Linked DNA regions of Homo sapiens: region 1 is linked to region 2. Evidence: promoter capture Hi-C in human tissues and cell types (Jung and others, 2019). All regions are on one chromosome and are shown on one strand. The core of a region is centred on a gene start or on the middle of the fragment in contact, and the rest is flanking DNA. Distances in the headings are between cores, read along the strand shown. Region 1 has its middle 36 kb from the start of UGT2B10. Region 2 holds the start of UGT2B10 (UDP glucuronosyltransferase family 2 member B10).

Evidence for each region. The method cuts DNA at HindIII sites, captures the fragments that hold promoters and counts their contacts. A contact is called where the count stands out against the background at its distance.
Region 1: a fragment that was not itself captured here is called in contact with the fragment with the promoter of UGT2B10 in region 2 in 1 of the 25 tissues and cell types used here (adrenal gland).

Annotation. Positions count from the first base shown.
Region 1 is chr4:68,848,243-68,855,079 of GRCh38, reverse strand. No RefSeq gene overlaps it. Among named protein-coding and RNA genes, the nearest start is that of UGT2B10, 36 kb to the right of the region's middle. The HindIII fragment of the contact is 6,022 bases long and covers 254-6,275 here.
Region 2 is chr4:68,813,925-68,821,014 of GRCh38, reverse strand. UGT2B10 (UDP glucuronosyltransferase family 2 member B10) reads right to left here and starts at 5,021. Exons shown (of 6, transcript NM_001075.6): 1 at 4,278-5,021; 2 at 2,838-2,986. The coding sequence starts at 4,995. It also overlaps the pseudogene LOC100422189. The HindIII fragment of the contact is 5,700 bases long and covers 3,708-7,090 here.

The sequences.
Region 1 (6,837 bases), core at 2,015-4,514, 36 kb before region 2:
AATTAAGTCTATTGTCTTATCAAATTTTAATATCCCAATAGAGCATCATGATTGTGAAAATGATAAAATTTAAGTACCTTGTTAGTATTAAAAATTGCTTTAATATAAAAAATTTAATTGTCCATGTATTGTTCTAAAAATATAAAGCACAATGCAAAGCAATACTTATTCAAGTAAATTTCCTAAGACTTGATAAAAACAGGGATCGCCTCTTACCTTGCAAACAAAAACTGCCCCCTCATCCCCTCCGAACTCAGCGTGTCAGAATTTTACTACAGGTAGATGCAGACAAGAACAACTATAGAATAAACCGGAGAGGAAATAGAAAACCTGAATAGACCCATAAAAAACGGAAAGACTGAATTACTAATCAAAAGACAACCCACCAAAAAAAAAGCCCAGGCCAAGAAGGCTTTGTTTTAGAATTCTACAAATCATTCAAGGAAGAAAACATAACAATTCTTCAAAAAACAATCCTCCTAATAATAGAAGAGGAGAAAACACTACCAACATATTTCATTGACCCCTTCTACTAAAACCACAAAAAACACATCACAAAAAATGAAAACTACAGATCAACAGCTCTTGTAATTATAGACACAAAATTCCACAATAATATCTTAGCAAACTGAATATAAGAACATACAAAAGTTATTATATACCACAAATAAGTGAAATTAATCTCAGCAATGCAAAGTTACTTTAACATTTAAATTATTGATAGCACCTGTTGGGAAACTCCTCTGCCCTCACAGGCTCAGAAGTGCCTGATCTTACTGCCTGGCTTCTTCCTGATGTCAGTGCCCACTTGATCTCATAGCAAAGTTGGGACTGAGCCTAGGCACCATGAGTGACAGCAGGAGGCAGACTGATTCCTGGGCAAAAGGGGGTGGGTCCCCAGTGATCCCCATCTTCAGGACCGGGGAAAGCCTGAAGGCTGGGGACTAGGTTGCCTGTCTGTCCCATGGACCGAAGTGGGAACTTGTGGTGCCTCTTCTGGGCCCACCCATGGCTGCTCACAGACCAATTAACTTGCACTTTCTCCCTAGTGAGGCCCATTAAAACTATGGGTTCAGCCATAGCTGAGCAGATGACAATATGACCAGCTGCAGAGAGGAACTACCTTCTCAGTGGAGAGCTTCTGAGACCTGCAGAGACATCGGGACAACAAGCTGCAGAGAGGAGCAACCCACTCTAAGGCCTCTTTTCAGCTAGGAGCTGAGCAGACATCAGGACAACCAGCTGCAGAGAGGAAAGTCGGAGAATTCCTCGAGCCCAGGAGTTCGAGACCAGTCTGGGCAACATACAGAGACCCTGTGTCTACAAAAAGTAATAATAATAATAATAAATAGAAGTGTGCAGAGGTGCATGCCTGTAGTCTTAGCTATTCTTGAGGCTGAGGCAGGAGGATTGATGGAGCCCAGGAGTTTAAGGTTACAGTGAGCTGTGATCACACTTCCACACTCCAACCTGAAAGGCAGAGTGAGACTATTTCAAATAAAAACAAAAAGGAAGAAGAAGAAGAAAGAGAGGAAAACTCAAGCAAGGAGAGAAGTTCAGATGCTCCAACCCCTAAAATATAATAATAACTAACTTTCTAATATGTACAACACAACTATGATCTTTGAATACTTATGAAATACTCTTTATTTTTTTATTCTACGTAGCTTTTTATAATTACCTATACTATTTTTGGCTGCAAACCTGAAGTTATTTTTAACACTCACATAAAAACTAAATTTTAAAAATTTGTAAATTATGCACTAGTTTATGATGATTTCCTGGTAATTCCAAAATCAGTACCTCATTATGGTACTAGGCATGTACCAAATGGCTTAGCTATAGACAACCATATTAAACACTGCTGTCAATGCTTTGGAGTATGTCATCGAAGATTTAACAGTCTTTGAATAAAATTTAGCATCATTGCATTTTAGAATTTTTTTCAACAGCACTATTATTTATAAGATGCCAATCATTCTTTCTCATATCTAAAAATGTCCATGCTAACAAATGTAATAATATTATGGATATACATGAAAAATGCCACTTGAAATTTTTTATCTTTATATGTAATTCCTAAGCAGAATTAATTTATTTCTCATACAGAGAGGATTACATAGATTTGCTTTGTTTGTAAATCAAAAGATGTCAGACTGTAACTATGGAACAAGTGGATATAAGTAAACTGTCTCCCATTTCATTGTTTTAAAAATAAAAAAGCTTAATAATAAATTTGGAAGAAGAGAGTGAGTATAGTACAAACATTAATTTAAAAAGTGTGGACCATTATTAATTTGTTACTCTTCTTCACACCAGAATTATGACTGTCTAACAATTAAATACTTGAATTTTTCATTTATTATCTCAATTGTTTAAGTCACTATGTATGAAATATTATGATTGCATTTAAACTGATCTAATGTAAAAATAAGTCCAGGAAATATAGTTGTTCTGCTTACTTCAGTCTTCTAGTAGTTCTCATTAATTAACCTGTCCTATTCTGTTTTCTTTGTCTGCTATATAGAAGGCATTTAGTAGGGTTCTCAGTCTTTTTAGAATTCTAACAAATATGGTTTAATTTGAATTTGACTCAGAACAAAGTATTTTCTTTATATAAATGATCACATGGAAATTTGATGACAGGAAATCAGATACCTTAGTATCAATACTTCGCTGTATAGTGGGTAGTCCAGAATGGCCTTGGTGAGACTCTGAAGAACAAAGATTGAAAACATGGCTAACAGCCAATCATGATGAAAATACTTCAACAGAAAAAAAACAGATTCACCATTTATTATTTAAAAACTCAAAAATAAAATCTAGCATGTTTATATTTATGTTCCAGTCCTGGGGGAAAAATACAATTAATTACAACAGTTACCATTTTTTTTATACACAGTTACGTTCTTTATGGCTAGAACAAATTATCTTTATTTCTATTTCAACTGTAGTTACCTCTTAAACAATAAAAGTTCAATAATTTTCTAGGTTGTCTGTCTCCTAATTCAATCATTACAAACACCCTTTCTCCTTATGTAGGGATATTTCAGTTGCAACTGAAAAATAACAGCCTGTCTTTTATTTCCAGTGACAGCATTTTATATGGGAAAAAATCCCCAGTCTTTATCATGAAGTGGTAACACACTTCATACTGGAGTGTCGCCTATACTTCACTTTGGTGGTTTTAGTGGAAATGTTTATCAGAGGTTCTAGGCTAGTGCATAAGTTTTAAAATAGTCAAAAATGAAATAGGAATTGCTGAAGATGGTAACAACACATTATAAAGAAGACTGAGAACAAAGTTGAAGCAGGGAAACATAAATATTATTAGAGTACTGTCTAGTTTTCACCATGTTTATGCCAGTCTTTCAGCATGAGAGCTCATCAAATGTTATTTTTCTGGATAAATTTTATTTGGTATATATAATGTATACGAGATGCTATCATCAGATGCAAATATGTAGTGAAAAGGTTGCTATAATGAAGCAGGTAAGCATGTGTCAATCATCTCACATTAGTTACTCAATTTTTTTATTGTTTTTAAAACTCTTCCAAAATGCTTTATTTTCAGTAAATTGGCATGACATAATCAATCACTAGTTCCTCTTCTATTTAATTATAAGGAAATAATTATGATGTTAATATTTTTAATCCCATCACTGATGAATTGTAAACCACTACGCCTTTCAAATTTACCTGTTTAAAACAATTGAAAAAAATAAGATACTAGTATAAAAGTGACCATATTCTTTGTTATTGTGGTTGTGGTTGCTTTTGTCTCATTTGAAATAATTATAAAATAACGGGCTTGAAAGAGATAAATTGGAATATTTCTGTTTAACAGCCAAAATGTCTGAAACCAGAAATTTGTTGTTTTTAAATTATTTCAGTACACACAATAATTTTAGTTATGCTATTTTATTAATAGTTACATTAACAAAAATTAAATAATTTTAATATTTACTATTATGTTTTTAATATTAATTTTAATAAACTCATTCTGGTGTTGAAAAATAAAGATAATTTTTGAATAGTTAACACATATTGAATGTATATGAAATGACATGCATTGTATTGGTTCTTTGTATTATGTAACTTCTTGATTATAGTTTTTTACAATTGTATTAAAAACATAAATCAGGATTAATGTCACCCTCTGAAAAACACAGTCTTCCCACTGTGATCTTTAAATAACAAGAACAGAAGTTACCTCCATTGCTATTGCTACAGTGCTATGCATTAACACTTCATAATTTTAACTTGGTAAGCATATACTTATATCCATCCTTATTATTTGTCTATTAGTCCATAATTATTTTAACACTAAATGCCTCAAAGCATTCAATGCAATGTCTCAAAGTAAAATATTGAACTCTTCTTAAATTCTAAAATCAAAATACAACAAGAAAAAACGGTGATAGTAGCAAACATTTACTAAGAATCTCTTTATGATGAGAATAATTTCAGCAAGTATTCTAAGAACCATTGCATGGCTACTCACAATAACCAGATAAGAAAGATATATGATTTTTATTCATTCAATTTAACAGTAAAATCTAGGAAGAGATGTGCTTTTTTTACTCATAGTCAGCATATATATATATAATTGACTACAGTATATTTTTCAGTATTTCGTTATAAAATTTGCATACAACGAAATGCATGTATCTTCACTATACATTTTTTGAGTTTCAACAAATGCTTACACCTCTATAAACCCAAACCCATAAGACATTATTATGACCACACAAATGTCCCTTCATGCCTCTTTGCAGTCCAACTCAGCCCTTGCTTCCCAGAGGAGATTGTTTTAGAATATCTTATATATGAAATTATGCATTCAGTATGTACTCTTTTGTGGCTAGTTTCCACTCAGCCTAACATGTTTTGGATTCATCTGTATTGTTGCGTGTCACAGATGTATATGAGTATACTGCATATTCTGCACCTCGTTTGTTTATTCATTCTCCAATTGGTGGATACTTGGATTGTTTCTACAGTGTCTTGTGAGTGGGAGTTTTCACTGTTGTCATTTGTTTATGAAGTCTAATTTATTATTTTATTATTTTTTCTTTTATGCTTTTTCTGTAATCTGTCTAAGAAAGCTTTGCCTGCTGCCAAGTAATCAAGGGAGATGGCTCCTATTTTTCTCTAAAAGCTTTATGTTTGGGTTTGGTAATCCTTTTCTTTTGTTTTGAGACAGGGTCTCTCTCTCTGTTGCACAGGCTGAAATGCAGTGGTGACATTGAAGCTTACTGTAACCTCTGACTCCTAGGCTCTAGGGATCCTCCCACCTCAGCCTGCTGAGTAGCTAGGACTACAGGAACACCACAACACTAGGCTAATTTTTTAAGAAGTTTTTTGTAGAGACAATTTATTCTTTATTTTTAAAATTTTTTTTATTATACTTTAAGTTCTGGGATACATGTGCAGAATGTGCAGGTTGGTTACATAGGTATACATGTGCCGTGGTGGTTTGCTGCACCCATCAACCTGTCATCTACATTAGGTATTTCTCCTAATGCTATTTCTCCCCTACCCTTCTACCCCCTGACAGGCCCCAGTGTGTGATGTTCCCCTCCCTGTGTCCATGTGTACTCAATGTTCAACTCCCACTTATGAGTGAGAGCATGCGGTGTTTTATTTTCTGTTCTTGTGTTAGTTTGCTGAGAATGATGGTTTCCAGCTTCATCCATGTCCCTGCAAATGACATGAGCTCAGCCTTTTTTATGGCTGCATAGTATTCCATGGTGTATATGTGCCACTTTATTCAACCTATCATTGATGGAAATTTGGGTTGGTTCCAAGTCTTTGCTATTGTGAACAGTGCCACAATAAATGTACGTGTGCATGTATCTTCATAGTAGAATGATTTATAAGCTTTTGGGTATATACTCAGTAATGGGATCACTGGGTCGAATGATATTTCTTGTTCTAGATCCTTGAGGAATCACCACACTGTCTTCCACAATGGTAGAACAAATTTACACTCCCACCAACAGTGTAAAAGCATTCCTATTTCTCCACATCCTCTCCAGCATCTGTTATTTCCTGACTTTTTAGTGGTCACCATTCTAACTGGCATGAGATGGTATCCCACTGTGGTTTTGATCTGCATTTCTCTAATGACCAGTGATGTTGATCTTTTTTTCATATATTTGTTGGCTGCATAAACATCTTCTTTTGAGAAGTGTCTTTTCATATCCTTTTAATAAGACAGGTAGATGTCAGCTCAGGATTCAAACTGAGGCCATGTGCTTTCATACTTTTGACCACTAACCCACTGTTATAATGACAATACTAACTCCTGGTCAATGCCAACTTCTTATGAGCTTTGCCTTGACCTGAACCTTGTCATGGATTTGTCTCCTATCTCTAGTCCTTAAATTGCAATTTTCTGATAAATAAAAATTTACTTTTCCTGTTCTTTGCCCACATTTTAATAAAGTTGTTTTTTTTTAATTTGTTTATATTCATTATAGATGCTGGACATTAGAACTTTGTCAGAGGTATAGTTTGTGAACATTTGGTACCATTCTGTAGGTTTTATATTCAGAGTGTTCATAGTTTCTTTTGCTGTGCAGATGCTCTTTATTTTTACCAGATCCCATTTGTCATCATTTGTTTCTGTTGCAATTGCTTTTGGCATCTGCTTCATAAAAGCTTTGCCCATTTCTATGCATAGGATGGTATTTCCTAGCCAACAAGCATATGAAAAATGCTCAACATCACTAATTATTAGCAAGGACATGGAATCAACCTAAATGCTTATCAGTGGTAGACTGGGTAAAGAAAATGTGGTACACATTCAACATGGAATACTATGAAGCCACA
Region 2 (7,090 bases), core at 3,772-6,271:
ACATTTAATGTAACTCGTGTTCAGTGTTTCATCTTACTGGCTTGATGCCAGAGCCTTGTTTTTCTATGCAGTGTTGAAGGAATCTAACCTCTGTGTAGAGATTCATCACTGATATTGACTGGTTGTTTCTCCTTTTGTGATAATGTTATAAAAATACTACAAAGTTAATGTAAGAAATTTTATAACAGTAAGAAAAGTTTTTTAAAAATAATTTTTTCTAAAATTTCTATCTAGAGATATTATTTATAGAAATTATGTATTTTTTATTATGGATTTTGCCCTACTTATATAGGTCAATGTACATACACGACACTTATTTAGAAAATTTTAATCTCATTTTATATACATTTCCTCCTGCAAAAATTTGCCATCGTGTTATATTTATAATTTTCTTATTCACTGTATGTGTATTATGGCTGACAGCATAATTGAACATTTCATTGATAAAATCATTTTAGTGCTATTGTAGGCATATGTTTCTAATCATTATTTCATGTAACATGTTGGATTACTTCCAATGTTAATTTTGTGAATATTTTCCATAATGTTTAAAAGGTACACCTTGATTAATTTTTTTATGATTTCACATGACTATATTATAAAACTAATAACAATATGTATTTTTAAAACACCTGATACATTTTGTCAAGTGTCTTATTCTCTTAAAATATATAGAAATTATCTGAGAATCTAATATATAATTGAAAAGAAAGCAACCTGGCTTAGCAAATATTTTACATAATAAACAATTAAAGAACTGGTTTCACAACCATTGACTTTCATTCAATGCTTTCTGCAAGTTAATAACAAGAGCTAGTATTAGTTATTACCACTATTGTACTACCAGTCAACCTTTTTTTCTTGTCCTTCTACATTGTCCTACTCTCTTCCTCCTTCTACTGGCACTGTCAGTTTCCCTTAGTGTGAGTGGGGAAATCTTTCAAGAGTAGGGTAGAGTGGCATATATTTTTCATTAGTCTTACCTCAACTTTTGTCTCTTAAGAAACTGACTCTATAAAGCCTATACAACTTGCATTAAACATAGATACTGAGTTTTAACAATGGAACAAATTCTCAGTTTTATGCAAGCAAAAATGATCTTTTAAGAGATTGCATAATAATCCATTGAAGAAGCCTTACTTTTTACATATGCCTTAAAATGTGATGTTAATTAAAATATATGAAGTTCTTGTATTCCTTCGAAAAGAATATAATCTTATATGCTGACGGAATTTTTTTTCGTATTGAAATTAAGGGCACTATTCAGAAACAAGTGGCAGAAATTATTTGGTCTTTATTATACATGCATTGTTCATTATCTCTGTGCTTCTCTGTCAGACACCTATGATGTCAAGACGAGTTCCCCCAGGAAGCTTTATTGAGTGGCCTGTCATAAGGCAGAAATCATCTGCTCTAATAGGATATGTTTATGCTCTAAAATGTAAAATTCTGGGATCTCAATGCAGAATGATTTAAATGCTTTATTAAAATCATGTGAACCCTGTGTTTGTCTGCACATATTTGAGGCACACATTTATATTGTTGAGGAAGTGTTTTAAGCTGGAATACTGGTGAAGATCCTTATTACTTATGGAAGAATTTTAAAATTTCAACTAGCTTATCTTGCTGTCACAACTGATATGTCTACTTTTAATCAAGTCCAAGGGTATCTGTCATCTATGACATTCCAAGACAATATAACCTTGATGTGCTGAATAATCTGGTTCTCTTAAATGAGGAATGATATCTCAAGTGACATGCACATGTTAAGTAGTTAGTAGTATTAGTAATAAAATAACCATAATTGCAAAATTAATAACATTTCTGAGTCACTGACTATATGCCAGAGACATTTTAAGTGTTTTGTCTGTGTTAATATTTTTTTCCACACAACACAATATGAAGTTGGCACTATTTTTGTAAATGTAGGCATAATTATTTCTATCAACAGTGTAGTCCACTTTTTCATCATCTGCTACCTGAATCCATGGAAAATTTCCTGAATGTTTCGGTCTTTACAGTCTGGCCCTTCTGCAATTTAATCCATTGAATATCTTGGAGGCTTTTCTTATAAAAAGAATCATTTCATATATCCTTATTTCTGAACTCTTTTTAGGATGTTTTCAATGTTCTTAATAAATATTTCAACTCCTAATACGTATCTGGCTCTAATTTACCTTTTAGGGTCATCTGATTCTTAATCATTCCCTGCAAACTAAACCTGAGGACTTGAGAACTGTCCTGACCACTTTATCTGCTTTCCCTTTTTGTCTGTCTCTCCCCACCATTCTTTTCCCTATTCCTGCATATTGTTCAGCTCTCATCGTACTCATCAGTGACTCCAGGATACTTTCTATTATCTCCACTGATGCTTTCTTAGCATTGGGTTTTTTTCTTGAGATAATAGTTTTTATATAATATTCATTACTTACTTATATTCTATATTTCAAAGTAGAATGTAAGGTATGTAGGGACAGAAACTGTGTCTATTTTTTTTCTCTGAAAATTGTGCACTTACCTGTGTTTTGTGATAATCTCTTTGTAAATATTCTTTGAATGAATGACCAATACCTTCTTAGGTGTTGCATAATCAAGACTTTAATTTAACCAACCCTATTTTCAAAGTTTCTTTAGTATTCCTCTCTATTTGTAACATGCATAAAACTCACATACGTGTGATGGTATTAACATGTACATGAGTTTCTAATTGGTATCTGCTTTACCCCACCTACTTCCCATCTTTTTCAGTGTTAGTCAAACACTCTGAATGAAGACTATACAGTCATTTCTACTGAAATTTGAAGCCAACAAAATAAAACCAACGAAAGTATGTTTACCTTAGGTAGGGGTTTGGCAGGTTTGCAGTGGAGTCCTCCAACAAAATCAACATTTGGTAAGAATGGATGAGGAAATTTAAAATTCCAGGAGTTTCGCATAAGCCATATGTCAGCTTTCCTCATTGTCTCAGATAATGTAGTGGGTCTTCCTGATAGGAATAAAGAAAAGAAGAAGTGGATGACATAAGATAATTACTTTATGTAATTTTCTGAAAGGGGTTAGAATAATGCAGGCAAAAATGTTGGTAAAGTTTGTGTGCTTTGAAAAATATGTACATATATTCATATATAGGAATAATTTATTTTTTATGTATTCTATATTTTGCCCTTGTTTATTTATAAGAAAGGCAAAGTAGTGGGAGAATTATGAGGTTAAGCTACATCTCTAATGTCATGTCAGTATACTCACAATTATTAAAATAAGTCATAGAGAATTAAACATCAATTTATTTTCTCTTTAAAGCTTCAATAGTAGCCTCTAGATATTTAAACAAATCTTTGAGCTCCATAATCAATTAATTCTACAGTAACCATAGAAACAATTTTCTAACAAATAGTCTAGTTTACACAACTCATTAAGCTAATCCTTTTATCTTTGGTTCTTCAAGTTAACTGTGGACTATTTTGTGAGTATGGCTGAAATCATTGTACCAACTACTCATTTGGATCCAAGCTAAGATCTTAATAATATTAAGTAAAAATATTTGTAAATTATAGCTAGAAATTTTTGAGAAATTATTGAAATAGAGATCTGTACTCGACCATAATCAGTCTCGTATTTTTAAATAAAGAGACATAGTTTCAAATAAACTATATAGATATAACAACCTTCACACTTCAACAAGATGATTGGACTTTAAATAAAAGATTTCCAATTATTTAGTGAAGGAGTATAGAAACATTTGAAACTTCAAATTACCCTTATTGATTTTTGCATCTGAGATATAGACATTATCTCTCTCTACTGTGAAGACAACCTCCTGGTAACATGGGAACATCTTTTAATTTCTAAATAAGACAACTGAGATTTAGAAGGAAAAATTTCTGCAGTTATATAGATAGTTGTAGAAAAATGTGTAATTACTCATTCTAAATCTATGCATTCGGTTAGATGTTACTTGACGGATCTTGCTGTTTTTAAGATCTGAAACATTCTATAGTAAAACAGATATATAATTGCTTAAAGTCTTAGGTGTACTAATATATAGGTTTATGATTTCCTGGGGTGTTCTGTATGAGTGATGGTCACAGCGTTTTCACTGACCCTATAATTTAAGCTTTTCTATAATATTTGTGAGATTGGTAGATCATCTTGTATTTTCATTTCATAAATTCATTTACCAAAAACTCCACTTCCCTGACTTTATGGCTTTATGCAAGTTGTGCTTCAAAGACACAAATAAGTTAGAGCTTCATGTTACTAATTGAAAAAAATCTTACCTAAAACTTCACTGTAAAACTGATCCCACTTCTTCATATTAAATATTTGGAACCAAAAGTCAAAATAAAGCACATAGAGCATATTTTTTACCCTCTCCATGAAAGTCATTTGATCACTTAATTTTGACATAACAACAGGTACGTAGGAAGGAGGGAAAATAAATCCTCCACTGTGCCTTTCAAATGAGTAGCCAGGACTGAAGCTGTGACTGTACACAAAGGGTATGTTAAATAGCTCAGCCAGCAGCTCACCACAGGGTAAATAAGCATCTGCAAAAACGATGTCAAATCTTGACTCTTGTAGTTTTTTCATAAGTTTCTTATTTGAAACTACATCTTTACAGAAGTTTCTAATTATGTCATTAATTGCCCACAGGATTTCTTGTTCTTGTGAAAAAGGTAACCAAAATGTATCTTTTTGAATTTCTGACAATCTCTTAACCAATTGCATGATGATATTCTCAAATTCAGTTTTAGTTAAAGATGTAGGATAAACTTCAAGTTTAAGAGTGGATGAGTCGTTGGGATCAAAAAGAATGGAAGCTGAAGATGCCAGTACAGTCACCTCATGACCTCTCTGAACAAGTTCTTTCAGGATTGTCTTCATATTCATCCAAAGGCTGTATTCTGCGGCCCATACCAGCACCTTTCCACAACTCCCAGAGCTAAAGTAAAAACTGAGTTGTATCAGCAGAACTGTAGTCCATTTCAGAGCCATCCTTGTGCAATGTGATAATTCTTTTCCAGTCACTGTTTCTTTCTCATACTTATATACAGAGATAAATCAATCAAGTTAAAACATAACTCCTTCAATTCAAAGTAAATACATTATATGAGCATCCTGAGTACATGGATGGCAAGGAGACAAAGTTCGATTACTTCATATTTACTCAAGGATGTTTGATGTTTCTTTTATGTTTATATTTGGTGTCATCCACCTAAGTTTAATGACCTTGCAAATATCGTGTTTTATATAATGTATTTTATAATAGTGTCAAGAACAGTGGCAAGTGAGAGAGTCCTGCAGGCCCCTTGACACAGAATGAGAGATGAAGTAATTATACAATGCAAATAGAATTTTTGAATATCTTGGTTCAAGGAATATTTTGTAAAACTTTGTTGAAGTATAATTCACATACCATATGATTCATGAATGATTATTTAAAATTAAATATTTCCTAGTAAATTCACAGACTTGTGCATCCAACATAGCAATCAGTTTTATCTAAAAAAAAAAAAAATCCTGTATATTAACTGTCATCTCCCCACCTGAATTTCTGCACCCACACTGTACTGGGCAACCAGTAATCTAATTTCTGCCTCTACAAATATGCCTATTCAGGATCTTTTTAAAAATAAATGAAACTATATAATATGTGGTCTTTTGTGGCTGGCTACTTTTATTTAGTTTAATGTTTTTAAAGGACCATCCATAGAATAGTGTATATAAGGATTTCATTTTTATTGCTTTTTATCAGATGCTACTTATAAGCAGAAATTATTTATTCATTTTTCAGTGGATGGACATTGATTTTCTTCCACTTTTGGCCATTATAAATAGCGTTCACATTTTTATTGCCAAATAGTATCAGATGCTACTTATAAACACAATTTATTTATTCATTCATTTATCAGTGTACGGACATTGTTTTTCTTCCACTTTTGGCCATTATGAATAGCGTTGATTAACATTGATGTACATGCTTTCTGTAGACATGTTTTTATTTTTCTTGGGTATATGCCTAGAAAGGCAATTATTGAATTATGTGGTAAATATATGTGTAAACTTTTGAGGAATTGCTAGACTTTTTCACAGTGGGTGAATAATTTTCTATTCTCACCAACAATGTATGAGAGTTTCAGTGTCTCCACCAACTTGCCAAACCTCATCTTTCAAATAACAAAAAAGGTTATTTTCTATTTTAATTCATTAACACACTCTAACAGACACAAAGAAAGGAAAGTTTCCTTCCACATATTGGAGGGAAAAGGGAATAAATTAACCACTAACTTACCTAATACTTCACTGTAAAACTGATCACACTTCTTTTTGTTAAAATTATCAAATGCAAAGTTAAAATGAAGAAAATGCAAAAGATTTTTCATCTTTCTGTAAATGTATTTTGGTACTAAGTTCTGACATGACAACAGCTACATCAGAAGGAGGTAATGAAAGTCCTCCACAGAGTTCTTGGTACATACTGCCAGTTGTAAATGGATGATAGTAGACCAAATGTATAACAAATGTTTAACAGATTAAGCTGTTCAGATAGCAGCTCACTAATGAGAAATGACATCTGCAAGAATGACATAAATTCTGGAATCTTGTTGTTCCTTATAAGTTTCTTGTTCAAAACAGCATACTCACAGAGCTTTTGAACAGTATCAGAACATTCATAATATGTGTTTTTTGTATCTTTGAATCATATGCCAAAATGTACTCTTTGGAAACTTGTATGTCCATATCTTGATCAATTTCATAAAAATGAAATCAAGTTCATTCTCAGTAAAAGATGTGGGATAAACCTCAAATTTAACAGCAAATTGTTGGAATCAATGAGGATGGAAGCTGAAGGTGACAAGCACAGTTACCTCTTGGTGTTTCTGAGCAAGTTCATCAAGTATCATTATTAAATTGATATAAAGACTGTATTTCACTGGCCACACCAGCACATTCTCACAGGACTCAGAGCTAGAATACAACTGTCAGCATAAGAAACAAAAAAGCCCATTTCTTAGACAACTTGTTAAAATGCTATCTTTCTTTCTAACTTTCTCTAACTTGGTACATATCAATGTCAATCAATGTCACA